7 separate regions of the Homo sapiens genome follow, and regions 1, 2, 3, 4, 6 and 7 are each linked to region 5. The links are contacts of gene promoters, found by promoter capture Hi-C in human tissues and cell types (Jung and others, 2019). All regions are on one chromosome and are shown on one strand. The core of a region is centred on a gene start or on the middle of the fragment in contact, and the rest is flanking DNA. Distances in the headings are between cores, read along the strand shown.

Region 1 (2,998 bases), core at 378-2,877, 480 kb before region 5:
GAAGCCAAGAGAGGAGTAAGATGTGTGGGGGTGGGGGGCAAAAGACAGAGAGGCAAGGAATAGAAGTGCAGGCTTCTAAGAGAGAGAGGGAAAGACAGACAGATGCACAGAGAGAAAGAGAGAAAGGAGGAAAGACAGAGTCCACAGGAAGAAGAGGGATGCAAAGAGAGAATGGAAGGAGAGGCAGGTAAGTGGCCAGCCCGAAACAGCAGGGTGGTAACTTCTAAGCCCGTGGGCTGAGCAGCGGCTTGTGTGGGATGTAGACCCTTTGACTCACAACCACCCACACAAAGGCCTCAATTATTTTCAAAACCTGATATCCATCTGAGCATTATTGCAACAAAGTGGGTCAGCTCTAAAAGGAGGAGAAGTGGGAGTAGGGGCTCAAGTCTTCTATTATCAGATTGGCCTGTGCTGGGTGTCGGGGGAAGGTGCTGGTTTGGAGTGTGGGGGCCTGGTGTTTATTTGCATCCCGCTGTGAAAAGCCATCCCCTGAATTCAACATCAAATAAGATAATCTTGGCACCATCCAGCATAGCATTGCTGCCTGGCACCATGCAACACCCAAGAGTGCGATGCCCCAAATCTCTGTTCCAGGATGAACCTGCTCAGGTGTGATACAGAGTTGGAAGAGGGGCTGAAAAGCAAGGGACAGGAGGGCATGTGAATTCAGGCTGCCTCAGCTAGAGCCTAGCGTGGGGCAAGTGAACCACGGTGGGGGGAGAGGAAGGAGAGCAGCATGCTCCCCTGGCCAGCGCTGCCTCACCTGCCATGCAATCAGGTCCTTGAGGTGGGTCAGCTTGTCCTGGTCCTCAGGGTGGTCCCTGACATACTCTTCAGTGAAGAAGGCCTGGGGAGGACAGATAGGAGGTCAGGGTTTCCTGTTCATGTGGCATTTCACAGCCAATCTCTTTGGCACTGGGAGAAGATTCAATTTGAAAGGGGCAAGGATGAGGTCACAGGCATGTGGATGGAACAAGAGTAACAGGTCTGGAGAGACTGACATTGTTTTATCTGCTTTGAGGCTCAGATCAGCACCCAGTGGGAATGGGCTGCAAACTCTGGGGAAGCTGTTCTCAAAGTCAGGTTCCTGAGCCAGTAGCAGCAACAGTACTTTGGAACTTGTTAGAGATGCAAAGTCTCTAGCCCCAGCCCAGACAGCCTGAATCAGAAACTCTGGGGGTGGGGTGAGGACCCGTGTGTCAGGAAGCACTGTAGGGGATTCTGATGCTCCTTTCAAGTTTGAGAACATTGCTCTGTGGAAAATAATTCAGTAAGGAATCTCACTGGTGGGTGTTCCAGCTCACCTCATGGCCTCCCTCATTGCAAGTGACCCTGGCAGCCCCTTTCTGGGGCTCATGTCCTTAGTGTGTGCTCATGTATAAACAGACATATCCCATCACTGCTCAAGGCTGAGCAAAGGGTTACCAATGATGACTGCATGGGTATCTGAGGGTAGTTGGAAGGATTGATTAGGTGACTGGAATTATTGTCCCCAAATTATACTACTGTGTGGTATTCTTAGTTTTACATCAATGGATAACATAGGAAAGATAATAGGGAATTCATCAAAAGATTTGTTAGAATGAGGAGTTCATTTTTCCTTCAGTGTCTGCTAGGTGAAAACCAAGTAAGAACTTTCTACTCTATTTCAATGCCAAGAACAGCTACGTATCCTTACTGAGAAATGGGTATTTTTCCTTCCAGTGGATAATGTAACTCATATAAGTGATGCTATTTCCTTTTTTGCCGTGAACACCAGGAAGCTCAAAAATAAATCTGTGGCTCAAACATGTGGGGCTTTCTGGAGGGACCTTATGACCTTGATATCTAGATTATAGCTCCCCTTTTGGAGTTGATCTCTTAGTTTTTATGGCTTTTCACAGATTCTGAGTTTCATTTCTTTCCATTAGTATACATCATTTCACATCCTCTGTGGAAGAGGTGGGTTTATACAACTGGCACGTACTTTTATGGTCTGGCTCACACTCATCCCAGAGCCTTTCCTTAATAGAGCCACCTGAATCTGCCCAGTGAGATAAGGGGACCTTATGACCCCTGCCCCTTCCTGCCCCTCCCTGCCCCAGCACAGGGTATGGAAAAGAGGCTGGGAGGAAGACAGGAGCTCAGCTAAGACATGAGGCTATAGAAACATGAGGGCCAACCAAGCTGAGGGTCCCTCTGGGGACAAGGACAGTCAAAGTAGGATAAGTGACATGTACCTGCATCTGCCCCCTGGGTCCTCCCACCACTGCTCTGCTCACCGAGCTCCCCTAGACTTGGAGAACAGAAATCCTCACCTTCTCATACTTGGCGAAGCCTCCCATGACAGCAGGGTCCACAATCCCGTTCAGGAGCATGGAGAGTGGGTTGATGGGGAGGGTCTCATCACTCTGGTACTGGTTTATCATCATCAGGATCTTCTCATTGGCCGTGGACATGGTTTCTATGGCATTCTCCAGAGGACTAATTGTGGTCTGTTGAAAATGAGATCACCAAGAAGAAAGGGCCTTAGTTAAGTCACTTTAAAAACAGATATTATTGGTATTGATTTCACTTGGGGTGGGAATTCAAATGAGGCAATGCTCCCTAAGGGGCTGTAACAGGATCTTGTAATTACTGAGCTCTGGGGGCTGTCTGCTCTCTGGGGAGAGACAGGCTGGCTTTCTGCTTAGTGAGAAAGGGATTTCTTTGGGGAGGCAGAAGCAGGAAGTGTCAGGTACCTGCTGAGTGTGCCCCAGAGAAGGTTTTCTCTTCTTATTATCTGGGTGAAACACATGCCAATTCAACCCTTTCAGTATTGGTTGGGCAGATACTATGTGTGAGTTATTGGCCAGAGAGATTAGAGCAGCTTGCGATGTGGGCACCCAGCCTGGCACATAGTAGGTCCTAAGACTGGTTGTTAGAGGGGTTCACTGTTCCAAGGTAGATTCACTTTAGTTGGGAAAATTAAACAGAACACCTGTCCAACACCTCTTAGAAGGCGATATAAACAGAG
Region 2 (2,711 bases), core at 2-2,501, 400 kb before region 5:
TTCCTTGATCCTGGCACTGTGCTAAGGAGTAACTCATTCTATCCTCGTACACACAAAGCAATTTTCATGAAATAGAAACTACCATTATCCCCATTTTACAGACTAGGAAACTAACACTCCAAGAGGTTAAATGACTTCCCAAGAAAGAGAAAGTGGCAGAATTAAAGAGTCTGAAGCCCAGGCTGTGTTCTAGAGTCTAACTTTTTTCTTTAATGTACAAAACATAAGTACTTGGCTGACCCTTAAGAGATACAAATCTATGATTTCTATTTAGGAGAGATTTCCAATGTATTAGGTCCGTTAGGAAATTACATTCTAATTTTCTAGGTATAAAGAAATAAGGATTACTGTATCATTTCTGGGGGCCTCTCCCAAAAATGACTAAAGTTTGAATGAAGCTGGGATTTCAGGAGGAAATATTCCTTCAAAGCACTCCCATGGGACCCAGCACATGTTTCTTCCAGAAGGACCGTGTGGACAGCTCAGAAGGGGAAGTTGCCTGGCCAGGGCTCCAACCCCAAGACCCTGGATCAAGGCTGGACATCTGTGCATTCACCTGCCCATTATTTAGTCCTCTTTCTGGTAACAACTTCTAGATTTTCCTTTGAAGAACTACTCTCTCTGCTTCTTTCCTTATTCCCTGACTTTGTGGTTTTGGTAGAACTGACCCAGTTCCAAAGGCGGGTCATGAAATCCAAGCCTGACTTAATAGCACATTTCATTTGGCTGGCCGCAGAGGTCCATGGATGGGCATGTAGCTCAGGCCAGACCTTTGAAGAGTGGCCTCAGGATTTTTTCTGTACCTATAGGAAAAGAAGCCTTTTCATTCTATTGTGGTTGAAAATACAACAAGGAATATATCTGCAACTTCTAGAGCCCATTTTCCCCACTAAGAGAGCATCTGCCTGAGAATCAAGTAAATAGAAAAAGCAGAGAGAGACACACACACAGATTCCCTACATTGCTATTTGAGCACCTAGATACATCCATGCCTGAAGCCACACCTCAGGGCTCTTTCAGTTATCTGTGCCAATACATTCTCTTTTTGCTTGGGCAAGTTTGAGTTAGTGTTTGCTCTTTCCCTTCCACTTCAGAGAATTCTGATTTTGTCTTTTTAACTTCTCCCCTTATTCTGCCCTCTAGGGATATTTCTATCTTTGCCAGACAATGCTTGGTTTTTTGATATAAAACAAGAACAATAGGTAGAGGGAGATAAAACTAGACACCAGTATAAGTTGAAGGGCTTTCCATGAAAGAATTTAAAACAAATAAAATAAGCCAAAGGAAAGCAGGGAGAAAGAAAAGAGAAGAACCAAAAAGATGCTGTTTTAAAGGAACTGATCGGCAGGATTTGAGAATCAGGTTCTGAGAGAGGCTTGGGGAAATCCAAGGAATATTAGAAATAAACCCAAGGGAATATTAGAAAAGATTAATGAATGTTATAATTTGGATTTTACTTTGGTGAAATGATATAAGAAACCTAGGAGCAGAGACTGAAATTGTTTAGAATTACTTTTATCTCTTGTTGTGTTGGGCCATAGGACATCTAAGCTATACTTGGGTTACACTGATAGTGTAGGAGATGTTAACGGGTATTATAGATACACACATAGACACACCAAATGCACATCCTATGTGCAAATGGATGGGCAAATGGAATGCTGTACCCTAAATCCTCCTCTTAGAAAAAAATCACATTAGCAAATTAAAAGCTTGAAGAAGTCCTGCAGCATGGAAATCTGTTCAAATCTGTTTAATTTAATGCTTCCTAAACTTATTTTACCATGTCACAGAATATATTTTATTACTTTTTAAAAATTAAAATAATATATTTTTAAAATGCTTTTCTAAGATCTCCTGTCCCAAGAGTGAACGAAAGGCTTCAGAGATGAAGTATGATATTCTAACTGGGATTTGAAAAATGGAGAAGTTGGAGACGATTTTTTGAGTAGCTTCGATTGGTGAGGAGTCCTTCCCTGGGTTTAAAGATAGAAAGAAAGCATGCCTTAACACTTTAATTTCTTTTCAGCAAGGAGAAATTGTCCCTAATTTAACCCAAAATAAGTGATCTTTGAAGTGAGGGCTGGGTAAGGTAGCTTTGCGGAAGCAGGTAGCAGCTCACCTGTTTTGAACCATGCTCATGGCCATCCAGTCTCCAGGGTACACGTTCTTTCCAATGAGGTCCTTGAACATGATGAAGGTCTCCATCAAGAAGTCCTGAAACAATGAAGCACAGCACACATGTCATCCTGTTTTACAGGAACTCAGAGCTTGTTGGCTCTTCAAATTTTTTTGCTATTATATTTTGGAGGGAGGAAAAGGGAAGGGACACAGCCTTTCATTAACTAAATTAAATGGAAGCTTAAAGATTGAATGCTGGAATGCTGTTTCCCAAATGTCAGTGGAACATGAATATGGGATGCGAAAATGTTCTCAAAATAAAGCACTATTAATTCCATCTTTGGGAATAAAGAAGTAAATGTACTCATTGATGTGGCAATTTTATAATCATTTTCACAAATATGTATTTGAGAAGGAAATAATCTCACTGTATGAAAGCATCTCAGGTCATTGAGCAAATAAACTCTTATTAAAATGAACATCTAATTAGCAGTGCTGTAAATACAGCTAATTCATATGTCACACACATACACACACACACACACACACACACACACACACACACACACACACACGAGCAGATTAGCTGA
Region 3 (2,700 bases), core at 97-2,596, 440 kb before region 5:
TTGTTGCAAAATGGTTTTTACTATTTTAGTATTATACCCTGAAGAGTCCATCCAAATCATGCAGTCCACCCTTCCCTCATTTTACCATTAAAAAATAAACTGGCACCTGGAGAGGGAAAGGGGAGCTTCGCAAAGGTCACCAAGACCAAAAGAGGACTTGGGGAGTCCTGACCTCTAACTTGACCTCTTTACACCCGGTCTTCATAATACTTCATGAAGTCTGGAGGTCACGGATCACCTTTAAATGTGACAATGCATGAAGAGCAGCCAGCCCTTGCTTGGTACAACCCTCGGTGTCAGTTATTATTACGGATGAAGAAGTAGAGGCTCAGGGAGTTTAAGTGACCTGTCTAAAGTCTTAGATGAATGGCAGAGACCTTTGGCAGGCTCTTTCCTGGGCATAAAGGATAGAGCTCCATGGAGTTGGAATCTTTAGGTGATGAAAAGGCAGGGACCACATTTGCTCTTCCCTCTGGTTCACACATCATCCGTGATGCCATCGTTCCCTCACTTTTGTGCACAAAGGATCTAAGGGAGGGACCAAAAGCTTGTGCTGATACAGCACAAATGCCAAAGAATTTCCGGTGAGTTGCCTCAGTTGGGGAAGACTTATTGAAGGAGATATACCGGGCCTGGAAAAATGGGTAGGACTGTGATAAATGTGAAAAGGAAGGCATTCCAGATGGGGGAAACGGTGTGAGCAAAGCTGTCGAGGTGGGAACGTGGAGAAAAATGAAGACAGCAGTTCAGCTTGAGCAGAGAAGAATGGATGGACGGACAAATGGAAGGAAGGAAGGAAAGAAGGAAGGAAGGAAGGAAGGAAGGAAGGAAGGAAGGAAGGAAGGAAGGAAGGAAGGGAGGGAAGGAGGGAGGGAGGGAGGGAGGGAACAGACACCTAGATGAGACCCAGTGTGGCAAGAGTCTAGACTGCCAGTCTGCAAATGAATCACGTCCCTTCTATGGTGCATCCTGTCAAGCATTATGTCTGTGTTGAATATTATCCAATGTCAAGGGTTGGGGACTATCATGCTTAGAGATGTCTTCTCTGCCAAGCCTAGAGCAGGAAGAAATACAGCTAAGGGGCTATACAATGAGTCTGCTGTGCGGCTGTCTGGCTTTAAATCCCTCACCGCTTCCCTCTGCCATCTTGGGAAAGCTGGTAGGTCTTTCTAATCCTCAGGGTCAGGATTTAGATCAGGGACTGGCAAACATTTCCTGTAAAGGGCCAGACAGTAAATAATTTAGGCTTTGGAGGCCAGATGGTCTCTGTGACAACTACTGAACTCTGCTGCTGTAGCACAAAACCAGCCCTAGACAACACATACACAAATTGGCATGGCTGTAGTCCAATAAAAGTTTATTTACAAAAGCAGGTGGAAGGATGGATTTGGTCTGTGGGCCAGAGTTTGTCTACCCCTTATCAATACAATGGGCATAACAGTAGTACCTACAGTGTGGAGTAGCTATAGGGCACAGAGATTTTATATGTAAAGCACTAGCAAAGTGCCTAACATTAAGTGTGTGCTGTGTCCCTCGACTTGTCATCACCACTAATGTTATTGTTATTACTGCCGAATGTTACTAGAAAGCAGCGCAGGGGGAGAAAAGTGCATTTTTTCTTGTCTGAGTGGTTCACTGGGAAATGCTGGCATGATTCTTCCTGGTGAGCTGAACTTTTCTTTGGAGCACAGAAGTGGTTGAGGTAAATAAGCACTTGTCTCAGGATCACAAAAGAGCCTGCCAGGAGGGAAATTACAGGGTTCCAGGGAGTGTGTGAGACAAATGATACCATACCACCATGCCTGAGCCCTTGGGGTGAGCTGGAGGGGTAAGGTCTCAGTCAGGCATATCCCAGGGTCAGTACTGTGCTCAGAAATGGCTATGCTCACAGTCTGTGGCATTGAATAGACTTGGTTTGAGTCTTGCTTTGACTTTTTTCCCAGCCCTGTGACCTTAGCCAAGTTAATAAACATTTCTAAGGCTTAATGTGCTCATCTATTAAATGGAGATTTGAAATAGCATCTCCTTCATAGTGGTACTGTAACAAATTAAAGGGCAAACACACGTATAAGGCACTTGGCACATAGTAAGTGCTCAATAATTGTTAGCAAAGCTCATCATGCTATTGTCATTGTCATCATCATAGGCATCATACTCTCATTTAATCTTTACAACAGCCAAGGGAGAAGAATGTCATCATCCCCATGTTACAAATGAGGAGGCTGAGGCAACGTAGGACCTTGGGTGACAGAGTGTAAGACTCTGTCTCAAAAAAAAAAAAAAAAAAAAAGGCTCTCCCAAACATACACTCCATCATGATGCTGCAACAGTCCTTACCCCCAACACTGTCACCATCCAGAGTTGAGGATGTAGCTCTGGCTTCTCCAAATTACTTCCATTTTCATCCACAGCTACATGACTGCATCACATCATTGACTCCTTACCCCACTGCTGCGAGGTGGATGTTTGCTAATGAGTATCCACAGATTTGTATTGAGCCACTACAGAAGTCAGATTCTACAGAGGCCCAATACAAATCTTGAGAAGCTCTAATCGAGAAAGGAGGAGTGGACTCCAGGAGCCCAAACCTTCTGCCTGGGCCTCCCTCTTCCAGGAGACTGGCCTGATATGGGCCTCGTGTTTGCTTCATGCCTTCCCTGCATTGCTTCTCTTGCCTCTCCTGGCTGCTTTAGAATATCT
Region 4 (2,919 bases), core at 278-2,777, 390 kb after region 5:
TCCTTAACCAGGTCTTCACGCAGAGACCAATCCTCACGTACATCCTGTCACAAAACCCAGCCGATTATACCTCACCTCTCTCTCCTACACTTCAGCTGCACTGTTATCCTTAATTAGGTCTTCATGCAGAGACACTAGTTACCCAAGAACACTTTTAACTGGTTTTCCTGCTTCCGATTTCAACCTCCTCCAAACTGGGCTTACTGCTACTCAGGAGACATGTGTATATGTATGTATGTGTGTGTGTGTGTGTGTGTATTTATATATATATATATAAATATACACACATATGTGTGTGTGTGTGTGTGTGTGTATAGTTTGTTTGTTTGTTTTTTGAGTTGGAGTCTTGCTCTGTTGCCCAGGCTGGCTTGCAGTGGTGTGATCTCAGCTCACCACAACCTCTGCCTCCTGGGTTCAAGTGATTCTCCTGCCTAAGCCTCCCGAGTAGCGGGGATTACAGATGTGCATCCCCATGCCAAGCTAATTTTTATATTTTTAGTAGAGACGGGGTTTCACCATGTTGGCCAGGCTGGTCTCGAGCTCCTGACCTCGTGATCTGCCCACCTTGGCCTCCCAAAGTGCTGGGATTACAGGCATGAGCCACCACGCCCGGCCAGGAGAACTTTTTAAAATTCAAACCAGATTATCACTCCCTTGCTCAAACCCTTTCTCTGGCTCCCTCTTACTATCTGTAAAAAGCCAAACCCAAATTCTTTATTATGGATAAAAAGGCCCTTTGTGGTATGACTGCTGCCTAGTTGTACACCTTCATCACTTGTGTTCGCAGGTCACCTCTGTGTTCTAGCAGTGCAAGCCTGCTTCCCAAATGCTCCTGTCTCCTGGCCCTCCATGGAGTACAGAGCACATACTGCTCTCTCAGTCTAGAAGTCTCCACCTCTGTCTCCTAAAGAGTTCTAGTCATCCTTTAAAACTAAACTCAAAACCATCTTCCTTGGGAAGCCTTCTTTTAACAAGGACTGGGTTAGCTGCTGCTCCATTGTGTTCCCACGACACCTTCGCTTTCAAGAACATGGCAATTTTTTGTTTTCAGGTCTGTCTTCTTCACTAGCATATGACATTTTTAAAAGAAGGGGCTGTATCTTATTCATTTTTGTATGTTCATATTGAAAAACTGGAGAAATGAAAGAATGGATGGATGGGTAAATGGTGGTTGGACGGATGAGTGAATGCTTGGGTAGATGGGTTGGTTGATGCATAGATGGATGGTGGTTGGATGTACAGATAAATGAACAGTTGGATGGATGAATGGTTGAATGGATACATGGATGGGTTCGATGAAGTGGCAAAAACTTCTATTTATATCTTACACCCAGGTACATCTAGAAAGGCCTTTAGTGGTTCCACAAAGACAAGGGCCTATTTCTTAGTGCTTCTCAATTCAGGCTGAAAAGCAGTATGGCTTTGCAACTCAGCAGCCAGTTGGTTTTTTTTTTACCTTTATGCTCCCCATTGTTGCATCAGGAAAGCTGAGGAGTTTTGATCTTAGTGGGAGAGGGAATACCTAGGAAGGCCTTATCCTGTCATTGCCCTGGCCCACATCTCATTTGCTGACTTCCTCAGTTCTGTCCTCATATGAGTTCCATTCAGTCCTGTTCTCCATTCAGTAATCATGGATTTACTTCCAGCTTGAACTATGGCAGGAGATCTCCACCTCTGGACCCAGAGTAACAGAACAGCAGATGGCATGAGTGTACCATGGCCAATAGCCACTGTCTGCACCCGGCACTTACCTGTTTATCAGGAGAACAGCATGTCTCATTCTGTTCATTTTCCTGTTGAGGGGCTGCTTTCACAGAAGCCACATGGGAAGTGTACCTTATGCAGCTTGGAGCCTTCATCATCTTTTCAAGGAAGACTTTCCAGGCCCATATTTACTCAGTAAATATGAGTAAATCCTGGAGTTACCTGGAAATACAGTATCTAGCTCCTTCTGATATTGAGAACCAGCAGGCGACCTGCTCGAGCTTAAGTGGAAAGGTCCCAAGGCTTTTGGGAGCAGAGCCCCACCCATCTGTCCCAGAATCCTCATTCAGGGTTTATGAAGCAGTGGGCAGCACACAATTGGCTAAATTTAGTTATATTTTTATTTTTGTCCAGCCACAAATACCGGCAAAAAACTGAAAATGATTCCTTCCCTTCCAGGAGCCTTGGAGCCAAGCTGGTTTTATTTTTAGCTTCAACTCTGGTTTAGGGTTTTCAGCAAACCGAACACCCTACTCACTGAAGACAGCAGCAAGCTGGGTTTTAGGATTTTTGCCTGGAATGGAGTGTTGGTTCTCTGAATATAACTCTTAAAAGACTTTGTACAGTTGTGACAATAGAGGGTGGTTCCAGACAGACCCACATAGAGACTCAGTTCTTGCCTTAGGGACCTCCAAGAGAGTTCCTTTCCAGGGAAGGCAATGTACACAGGGTGGTTCATTGCCTTGGATGGGTTGGAGGAAGTGGCAACTCTGGATGAAAAGAAACAGAAAAATTAAGAAAGGGAAAGGGAGAGGGAGCTGTTGTTTATTGAAAGGCTTTGAGTAGCATGGTGGTTCAGAACTAGAGCTCTGGAGTCTGACCGACTGGGTGCAAATCCTGCCACTACCACTTCCTGACATTGTGGCCTTGGGGATGGCTTGACCTCCCCAGGCTTCAGGTTCATTCTGTATGAGACAGGATTAATAATGACACCTACCATGAGCACTGCTGCAGTTATGATCCTGCCTGTGTAGCACGTGGCATGGCGTTTGACATGCATGTAGAACTCAATCCATACCATTATCATCACTGTTGTCATGCTCTTATTGCAGTGCTGAACGCTTGCGTAGACACTGTGTCATTTAAGACTCACTGTAACCCATTTTGCAGATCTGAAACTGAGGTCCAAAGGGCTAGATAGCTTGCTTCAGATCC
Region 5 (2,700 bases), core at 194-2,693:
TAATCTGGGGGGCAGCGCGTAGAAGGGAACATGGACAAAAAAATTTTCCTGAGGAAGTAACTTTTCAGCAGAGGTCTAATGGATGAGAAAGAGTTAACCTATCAATCTACAAAGAGAGATAGCCGTGGTTGATTAAAAACTACTAATGTGTGACAGACATTGTGCTTGGTGCTTTATACACATTCTTTTTTTTTTTTTTGAGACGGAGTCTCGCTCTGTCGCCCAGGCCAGACTGCGGACTGCAGTGGCGCAATCTCGGCTCACTGCAAGCTCCGCTTCCCGGGTTCACGCCATTCTCCTGCCTCAGCCTCCCGAGTAGCTGGGATTACAGGCGTGAGCCACCGCACCCGGCCGCTTTATACACATTCTTATTCAATCTTCTCAACAACTTCAAGAGGTTGAAGGTATTTCCCTCATTTTACACATGCAAGCTGAGGCATAGAAAGTTTTAAGTAACTTGCTTAGGGTTACCCGCAAGTTAAGACGCGAAGTGTGATGGGAACTAGAATCTACCTAGAAACCATGGTGCTGCAACCATTTTTCCTGTCCTGCTTCTCAAAAATATAGCACACACAAAGCATTTGGGACACAGGAAACTCTGGGAATCAAACTGCCTGAGTTCTTACCCCGCCTCCACTACTCACTGGCTGCATGAACTTGGACAAGTTATTTAATTTCTGGTTTAATCATCTATAAAAACAAGCACAATAACACCCACCTAATCGGTTACTGAAAGGATTAAATGAGATAACGAATGAAAAGCAATTAGGGTAGAATCTGACACACGGCTGGGGCAGTGCTGTCCAGCAGAAATATAACGCGAGTCATGTACGTGATTTTAAATGTTCTAGGAGCCATCATGATTTAAAAAGTAAACAAAGATGAAAAATTAATTTACATATTTAAACAAATACACTCAAAACATCATTTCAACATGTAATCATTATAAAAATTATTAATGAGATATTACTCCTTATGCGCTATCTCTGAAACCCAATATGTATCTCCCATCTGCACCATTTCTTAGTTCGGGCTAGAGGCTACCGTACCGCACAGCGCAGATCCAGTGGCGGTTATAATTTTGAGGACCCGGCAACCGACCCAACGTTCCATATTTGTCCAGAATCCCTGAGGGCGGCGAGGTGGTCCAGCGGAAGATAAGACCGGCTCGGAACCCAGTGTATAAGACCCCAGGGTTCCGGGGAAGGAGATGTTTCAGCTAAAGGCCTCGGCCGAGACCCCGGCCCCTAGCTTTCTTTAGGGCCTGTTCGACTCTCCCCACTGCCGCTCTCCACACCCACCTCCCACCAGGCCCCTTGCCCCTACCTCTCACGCTAGTCCCCTGCTGCCGCAGCCAGCGGCTCCTAATGGGAGCTCAGGGCGTCCACATTGAGGACGCTAACTCCACAGTCGCCGGCCCATTCGCTCAGCTAGCTCTCGAGTAAGCGCCTGGGATATTTGAATGCAGTTCCCGCGAGAAGTCCCACGTCTCACGAGACGTCCGCCCAAGCCGCGCGGAAAGGAAAAACCAAGAGAAACGCCCAATGGAGCGCCCACCCCCTCCTACAGCTACTGCGCATGTGCAAGTGGCGCGCCGTGGGCTTGGCGCAGGCGCAGGCGCAGACGTGGCTCCACATAAATTTTTCCTTGGGCTGGTTTCCTGCATGTCTTTTAAGTATTTGCTTTTAGTTTCCGTGTTTTGGTGTTTTGTTTGTTCGTTTTTTTTTTTTTTTTGTTTTTACGACAATGCCTTCTAGGGGAACAGTGTCGCTGGGCTGGGCGGTGGAGAGACACCTTTGGCACCATCGTGCGATCTCATGCACCCTACCAGTGGTAATACTGGCGTTAATATTTAAGTTCCCACCATGTGTTAAAGTTTACAGATTATCTCAGTTAAGCCCGCAGCCTTATGAGGCAGATATTACTCCTCGTTTTCTACAGAGAAAAAGCCCGAAGAAAAAAAGTGCCTTGTCCAAGTGGTAGAACTAGAATTGAATGCAGTCTTAGAGTCCAAGCTGTTTGCATGTGTTTTTAATAATAATATTTTGTAACCCTGATGCCTATTCAAAAATTGAAGCGATCAGAAATAATAATAGATAACATTTAATGAGCACTGATGAGTCCTAGTAACTGTTACATGAATCATGTCGTTCTTTCGAGCCCATCTTTTCTTGCCTATTTGAGAACTTGGCTCTAACTGCTCTTTTTTGCATCTTCAGTTTTTTCTTCTCTATTGGATCTTCCCTATCAGTTCATAAACATGCTGCAGTGATTGCCATAAAATCATTTCATGATTTCATTTTTTAAAAAATCCTCCTTGACACCAATCGGCAACCACCCCATTTGTTTTCTTCTCTTTATAACAAAATTTCTGGGGAAAAAAAATCTTTACATCCATTATCTCCATTTTCTTACCTTTTGTTCTTTTGTTTGTTTTTCCCACTTTAACCAGGATTTGGTCCCAACCAATACTATGAAGTGGCTCTTGTTAGGTTTACCAGTGATTCCTACCTTGCAAAATTCGGTAGTCAATATTTAGTCCTCACTTCTGGTGAAATTTGACAGAGTTGCTTGCTCTCATTGATTTGAGTCTTTATGTCTTGGGATGCCACACTCTCCTTGCCCTCTTCTTCTCAGTTTCTTTTGCAGACTACAATTTCTGCCTGAGCTAAGCCAGACTCAAAGGGTTGATCTGAGCTT
Region 6 (2,988 bases), core at 139-2,638, 380 kb before region 5:
CTCCCAAAGTGCTGGGATTACGGGCGTGAGCCACTGCACCCGGCCTGGCTTCTATTCTTCTTAAAAAACTTTATACTTGTCCTTCTTAGCACTTGTCACAATTTTAATTAGATATTTATTTATTCAAGACTTGTTTAGTGCTTGTCTCCTTTCCTAGGTGGAGCTCCTTGAGGCAGAGAAATGTCTGCTTAGTCCACCATGTTTTCCCAGCATCCAACACAGTGCCTGAATGTAAAAGGTGCACAGTCAATAGTTTTAAAATGAACACGTTTAAATTTCAAACATTATGCTCAGCATGCTATACTTATTCTTGCACTGTTGTTAGAGTTGATTAGCAGGCAAAGGTAATACATTCCCCTGATGCAAGGCAAGACTAGGCAATTCAATTTAATTCTGTTCAGTGTAGTTCAAGTCACTTCAATTATATTCCATTCATCTTAATTTAATTCCACAAACCTTCACAGATACCAGAACTCTGACAGCATTTATCCTAGGTGTGGAAATGTTAGAGATGATGATGATCCATTAATTGCCCTTGGGGGGCTACCCATTTATGCCCCCTCATCTATGGCCAATGACAATTGTAGGACATATGACTGATCTCCCTACATGCATGAAATTGCAAATGGGCAACAGGTTGACCTAAACAGTGTCTCACTACCATCACTCACTCATGCAATATACTGGGGTGTTTACCATGATAGTTACAGTCGTCTTTCTTAGTCCTCAGGGATATGTTCCAAGACTCCATGGATAGTGAACCTATATATACTATGAACCCTAGTATATATATTCAGTTCATAGCCTATACTGAACCCTATATATACTATGATTTTTTCCTATGCATGCATACCTGTACAGTGTGAATATACTGGACAAAGGGATGATTCACATCCTAGGCAAAGAGAGTAGGATTTCATCACATGACTCAGAACAGAACACAATTTAAAACTTATGAATTATTTATCTGTGGATTTTCCATTTAATATTTTTGGACCACAATTAACTGCAAGTAACAAACCATGGAAAGTAAAACCATGGATTGTGGGAGGAGGGGACAACAATATAGAGACCCGAATATTACCACACAAGTACAGGTGACTAATGATGGCCAAGAATATTGAGTCAAATGGCTGGCCCTCCATTATTGGTCATTTTAAGTGATAGAAATCCTCCAATCCACCTTGAAAACCTATCTTAGAACCTCATGTTTCTTTCTAATCAATAATTTTCCTTTTTATTCCATTTCATCTTGAGTATATGAGATTTGAGCCTACTCACTTCCCAAAAGATGTGAGATGAATGGCAGGCTGAAAAACAAGACATATTAATATTATCAATGGCCTGAAATGAGTTCATCTGCTACAAGAACCAGAAATAGCACCTTTCAGGCACCATAAATGAGCAGATGTAAATACCCAAGGATCTGTCTCTGAATTCTCTAACAGCTAAGAAAAACAAAGATACCCATGTACAGAGGTTTTATCTTTTGACATGGAAGGCATACACAGCTTTCTGTAGGAACTACATTATTTCCTCCTCTGGAACTATACACTGGTGGAAATTTATCATGGGTACTTATAAAAGAACTCAGAGAGGCAGGGTAGACCTTGCCTTCATCAGTTTCACAAAAGCATAAAATGCTCCTCAACCTGACCGTTCCCTCATCCACCTTCAATAAAGGCAGTTCTTTGAGGGACTGATAGCCTGAGATCCGACACTCTGCCTCTGATGATCTAGCTTTACATGGTCGAATTTAATTTAACCTATTTACTCTTATCTGGACCTCAACAGAAACCAAACAAGCTGTTTGCACCCCTTCCAAATATTGCAGGCTCAGCTCTCTGAAGTGCTTCTGTTTCCTCTTTTCCTGGCCAAACCTCTTTTCCATCCTATTGTTGTATTTCCTATTTTGCCCTCTGAGCATTCTACCTGGTTTCCACAGAACTACTTCTAGATCTCTCTAGATCTACGATGACTCTAAGGATGTGGAATAACTAGGATGGCACCTGTTAGTAAAATATCTAGTCAAGGCCAAGTAACACACAGTTGGAGACCTGAGAACTGGACGGACTCCCTAAAGTCCTTTAGTCCAACACTTACCTTTATGCATGATCCTCTGTGAAGCATTCCCAATAAAAGATTCAGTGACCTCTGCTTGCAAGATTCCAAAGAGAGAGAAATCTCTACCTAATCAGAAATTCCATCACCCTGTGGACTATTAGAATTGTTAGAAAGTTCTTCCTTATGTTGAACCATAAACTTCTTTTTGGTAACATCAAGCCATCACACCAGTTCTACTTCTGCAGAATGATCTTCTGGACTCCCCTAGAGTTGTTGGGAATAGTTTGTTCCTTTTTTTTTTTTCTTTTGAGACGGAGTCTCTCTCTGTCACCCAGGCTGGAGTGCAGTGGTGTGATCTCAGGTTCAAGCGATTCTCCTGCCTCAGCCTCCCAAGTAGCTGGGACTGCAGGCGTGCACCACCACGCCCAGCTATTTTTTTTGTATTTTTAGTACAGACAGGGTTTCACCATGTTAGCCAGGATGGTCTCAATGTCCTGACCTCATGATCCGCCCCCCTCGGCCTCCCAAAGTGCTGGGATTACAGGCATGAGCCACCATGCCCAGCCAGTTTGTGCTTTTTATACATGATTTCTACTCATCAGAATATTCTGCAATGCTACCTACATTTTCATATGTTGTTTCTGCCCAGTCCTAGGCTTAAATACTTTATAAGTTAGTAGTTTACTAACGGGAGCTGTTTGATTTGGATTCTAGGAACCTGCCTCATTCCTTAGCCAACTATGAGTTGCTAATGCTGATAAAACACATTGTCTTTGAGAGACACAAAGCGTACTAGGTTTTTCCCCCACTCTCTTAAGTATTTTTGGCAAAACAGAGAAGCATGAAAAGGTGAGACCCCTTTGCCCTGAACCAATTATGAGGGTGACTGGGTAGCTGATGAATGACAGCCCCTCCTGCCTGAAT
Region 7 (2,788 bases), core at 52-2,551, 300 kb after region 5:
CACTGGAGACTGCAGACTTGCAAGAACTCAGAGTTCTGCCCTGGAAACAACCTCAGACTTCGTCTTTATGGCCATCTGAAATCTTTTATCATGTCCAGGGTAGCATGTAAAAGTGCCCCAGGGCTGGACTCTATAAATGATGAATTACTTAGACATACTCCTGAACTCCCTGTATCCCAAATAGGACAGATCATTTTGTAATTAAAAAGCGCAGCAGTGATGATCTCATTGGAGAGCTGTCCTGTTCAATAATGTGTTGCAGAAATTTCTGGACTATCTAGTACTTTGCTGACATTCTTTCTCTCCTCTTCTTCTCTCTCCAGCTCTAGAATGTAGGTAGAAAGTGTTCTGAGTATGGGGATTCTAAGTGGAATTAGTGAGAAGCCAAGGGGGAGTACAATTTGGATGTAAGCCGAAATGAGTAGAAAGACCTAGGCTGAATCCTGGCTTCTGTCACTTTCTAACTGCCCGACCTGTCTGAGTACCTTTGCGGTCTCCATAGTCTCATCTATAACCTTTGGAATGGGAGAAATAACACTCATCTCAGGGGGCTGATGCAAGGTTTAAATGAGATCAGATGTCTCCAAATGCCTTCTAAATTTAGTGCTATGCGAATACCTTAATGAGTCCACCCACAATATCTGAATTGAACCACTAAATCCTGTATCTGGAAGACGATCAGGGTATATTTTAGAAGCTTTCATTTACAGATGAAGAAACTCAGGGAGCTCCAAAGCCTTGCTCAGAGTCACCCATGTCTTCAAACTCTTGTTCCAGTTTCCTTTTCATTTAACAAGATGCATCTTTTACAAATTAAAATATAACCTCATACCAGCCATGTCAGCAGCTTAACCAGGTGGAGTTTAGAGGACTGGGTAATTAATAAGTGACAGTGTCCAAGACAGTAGGACCAAATAAGGGAATCCATGAAGGATGGAGTCATTTAAAGGGGCCATTTATTGAGTGTCTACCACAATGAATAAAGCAAGTGAAATGTTCTGGTAACTAGAACAGTTCAAACTAACTTCAAAGTTAGTCTGGACTGTCTCTCCCTCTAAATGACTGACAAGGCAAAGGCTACCATGCTAGGTTCAGAGCAGGGAGATTTATGGGTTGGGAGAAATGCTAGAACCATGAAGGATGTAGCACCAAACCCTCAGGAATCATTGATGAAAGCAAGCCCCCTCATCCCTTTTAGTGGGTACAAATATGTAGAAAGCCTCCCACATCATAAAAAAATAGTACAAGTGGAATTAAAAAAAAACTCAAGGGGGAAATATTAATCTGAGAACAATTGTATCTGAGAAAGCATTCAAGTATGCCTCTGCAGCTAGCTGGCAAACAGCACAAGTTCTGCATTTTATTAGAGTTCTAACTCTGTGTAGAACACTGACCTTATTTGAGAAGCATTTCATAAACACTGACACACAGCACAGCAGCATTTGAGGCCATGAGGAGATACAGGGCCTTCTTTAGGGGGCCAGCTTCCCTTCCCCTCCTCGGCTGCAAGGGACCCCTAGGACATTGTTTCCCTGAGTGGTAATATCTTTATTTTTCTCTCTTAGGTTTAACTCAGCAGGAGGAATTTTCCTAGGGGAAAATGAGGGAGGGGGATTTGGAATAAAATTTGTACTTTGGGCAAGTTTGCCTAAGCATGGGGTAGGCGATGGGGAAGACCCTGCTCTGGGAGAAAGGGTCTAAGAACCTTCACTTGGCCAGTGGAGTTTCTTTTTGGAGATCTCACCTGGTGCCTGGAGACCTATGCTGTGGCTGTGTCAGAGGCAGGTTCTCAGGCAGCATTCACCAGGTCCTTTGGAATGCAAGACTTGTGGCTTGCAACCGCCCTGAGAAACGCGTCCACCACATCCCCTCCTGCTAGAAGCTGGCACCTCCCTTTCCATCTGCTGCCAGCGTACAAGTTCTGAATTTGTGCCACAGAACTTGGTTCTGTTCCTCCCCCTCTTGTTGGCTTCCCTAGCCAAGAGATTTTCAGGCTTTTGAGGTATCACTGGAGATCATCTGGTCTACTCCCTCCCCACTGATCTCAACCCATCTCCAAAGGGAAATGCATTAGAAAGGTCACCAGAGAGGACCTCAGCTTCCTGGTGTGGTCTGCCCTTATGAAAAGGTGCCTTCATTTCTGCCTCATCCTGTGCAAAGATCATGCAGAGCCATGGGAAGCCTCTGCCAATCTGGGAAGCTAGGGAGACAGAAGAGGGACCACATCTAGTACAAAAAAAAATAGGGAATCATGTGGAAGCAGAGGGGAGAGGCACCAGATGGGTGACTCGGGATGGCAGATCATATCCTGAGGGCTCTCAGCACCAAGCCTGCAGCTTATTTCGAGTCTAGAGAGGGAAGATCCCAGCTGAAGAAAACGGCAAGGGAAGGAACACTGGGAACCAGGACTGGAGCAGGAATCCAAAAATGGGAAGGCCAGTTGCTTCATGGGAGCTTTTAATGACTCTAGTTCCCTACCAACACCCCTCCCCTTCTAATTGCTTCATAGCACAAGATGGTAACCAATCTGCTCTGTTTACTCTGTTTAGGCATACATTTTAGTACTTTCTGAAACATTTCCCATAAGCTTCCCCCTGCCGTGTGCCCTCCTTGTACATTCTAGAAATTTTGCAAAGACCTAAGTCTCCTCTGGGTTCTTTCCTGACTGGAGCTGCATGCTGATTCAAGCCATATTCAGTCAGGAAGCTCTCTTCCCGTCTTTAAAACAAGAAACATCTTCTTCCAAGAAGACTGCACTACAGTTTTCTTTGTCTGTGTTGCTAACGAA

The links. The method cuts DNA at HindIII sites, captures the fragments that hold promoters and counts their contacts. A contact is called where the count stands out against the background at its distance.
Region 1: a fragment that was not itself captured here is called in contact with the fragment with the promoter of SPDL1 in region 5 in 1 of the 25 tissues and cell types used here (mesenchymal stem cells).
Region 2: a fragment that was not itself captured here is called in contact with the fragment with the promoter of SPDL1 in region 5 in 1 of the 25 tissues and cell types used here (mesenchymal stem cells).
Region 3: a contact is called between a fragment that was not itself captured here and the fragment with the promoter of SPDL1 in region 5, in 1 of the 25 tissues and cell types used here (lymphoblastoid cells).
Region 4: a fragment that was not itself captured here is called in contact with the fragment with the promoter of SPDL1 in region 5 in 1 of the 25 tissues and cell types used here (mesendoderm cells).
Region 6: a fragment that was not itself captured here is called in contact with the fragment with the promoter of SPDL1 in region 5 in 1 of the 25 tissues and cell types used here (IMR-90 fibroblasts).
Region 7: a fragment that was not itself captured here is called in contact with the fragment with the promoter of SPDL1 in region 5 in 4 of the 25 tissues and cell types used here (H1 embryonic stem cells, bladder, mesenchymal stem cells and 1 more).

The regions. Positions count from the first base shown.
Region 1 is chr5:170,066,989-170,069,986 of GRCh38, reverse strand. DOCK2 (dedicator of cytokinesis 2) reads right to left here. Exons shown (of 52, transcript NM_004946.3): 45 at 2,301-2,477; 46 at 767-850. Among named protein-coding and RNA genes, the nearest start is that of FOXI1, 37 kb to the left of the region's middle. The HindIII fragment of the contact is 5,135 bases long and covers 1-2,998 here.
Region 2 is chr5:169,985,334-169,988,044 of GRCh38, reverse strand. It overlaps DOCK2 (dedicator of cytokinesis 2), which reads right to left. Exons shown (of 52, transcript NM_004946.3): 29 at 2,123-2,217. Among named protein-coding and RNA genes, the nearest start is that of INSYN2B, 6.2 kb to the right of the region's middle. The HindIII fragment of the contact is 6,880 bases long and covers 1-2,711 here.
Region 3 is chr5:170,023,948-170,026,647 of GRCh38, reverse strand. The region is part of intron 33 of DOCK2 (dedicator of cytokinesis 2); the gene reads right to left. Among named protein-coding and RNA genes, the nearest start is that of MIR378E, 3.2 kb to the left of the region's middle. The HindIII fragment of the contact is 3,278 bases long and covers 1-2,700 here.
Region 4 is chr5:169,196,348-169,199,266 of GRCh38, reverse strand. All of the region lies in intron 3 of SLIT3 (slit guidance ligand 3), which reads left to right. Among named protein-coding and RNA genes, the nearest start is that of MIR585, 66 kb to the left of the region's middle. The HindIII fragment of the contact is 6,366 bases long and covers 1-2,919 here.
Region 5 is chr5:169,582,516-169,585,215 of GRCh38, reverse strand. SPDL1 (spindle apparatus coiled-coil protein 1) reads right to left here and starts at 1,443. Exons shown (of 12, transcript NM_017785.5): 1 at 1,327-1,443. LOC105377714 (a long non-coding RNA gene) reads left to right here and starts at 1,555. Exons shown (of 3, transcript XR_941200.3): 1 at 1,555-1,833. RefSeq lists an enhancer at 816-1,816. The HindIII fragment of the contact is 9,913 bases long and covers 1-2,700 here.
Region 6 is chr5:169,958,753-169,961,740 of GRCh38, reverse strand. All of the region lies in intron 27 of DOCK2 (dedicator of cytokinesis 2), which reads right to left. The region is part of intron 1 of INSYN2B (inhibitory synaptic factor family member 2B); the gene reads left to right. Among named protein-coding and RNA genes, the nearest start is that of INSYN2B, 20 kb to the left of the region's middle. The HindIII fragment of the contact is 5,702 bases long and covers 1-2,988 here.
Region 7 is chr5:169,286,832-169,289,619 of GRCh38, reverse strand. All of the region lies in intron 1 of SLIT3 (slit guidance ligand 3), which reads left to right. Among named protein-coding and RNA genes, the nearest start is that of SLIT3, 13 kb to the left of the region's middle. The HindIII fragment of the contact is 5,750 bases long and covers 1-2,788 here.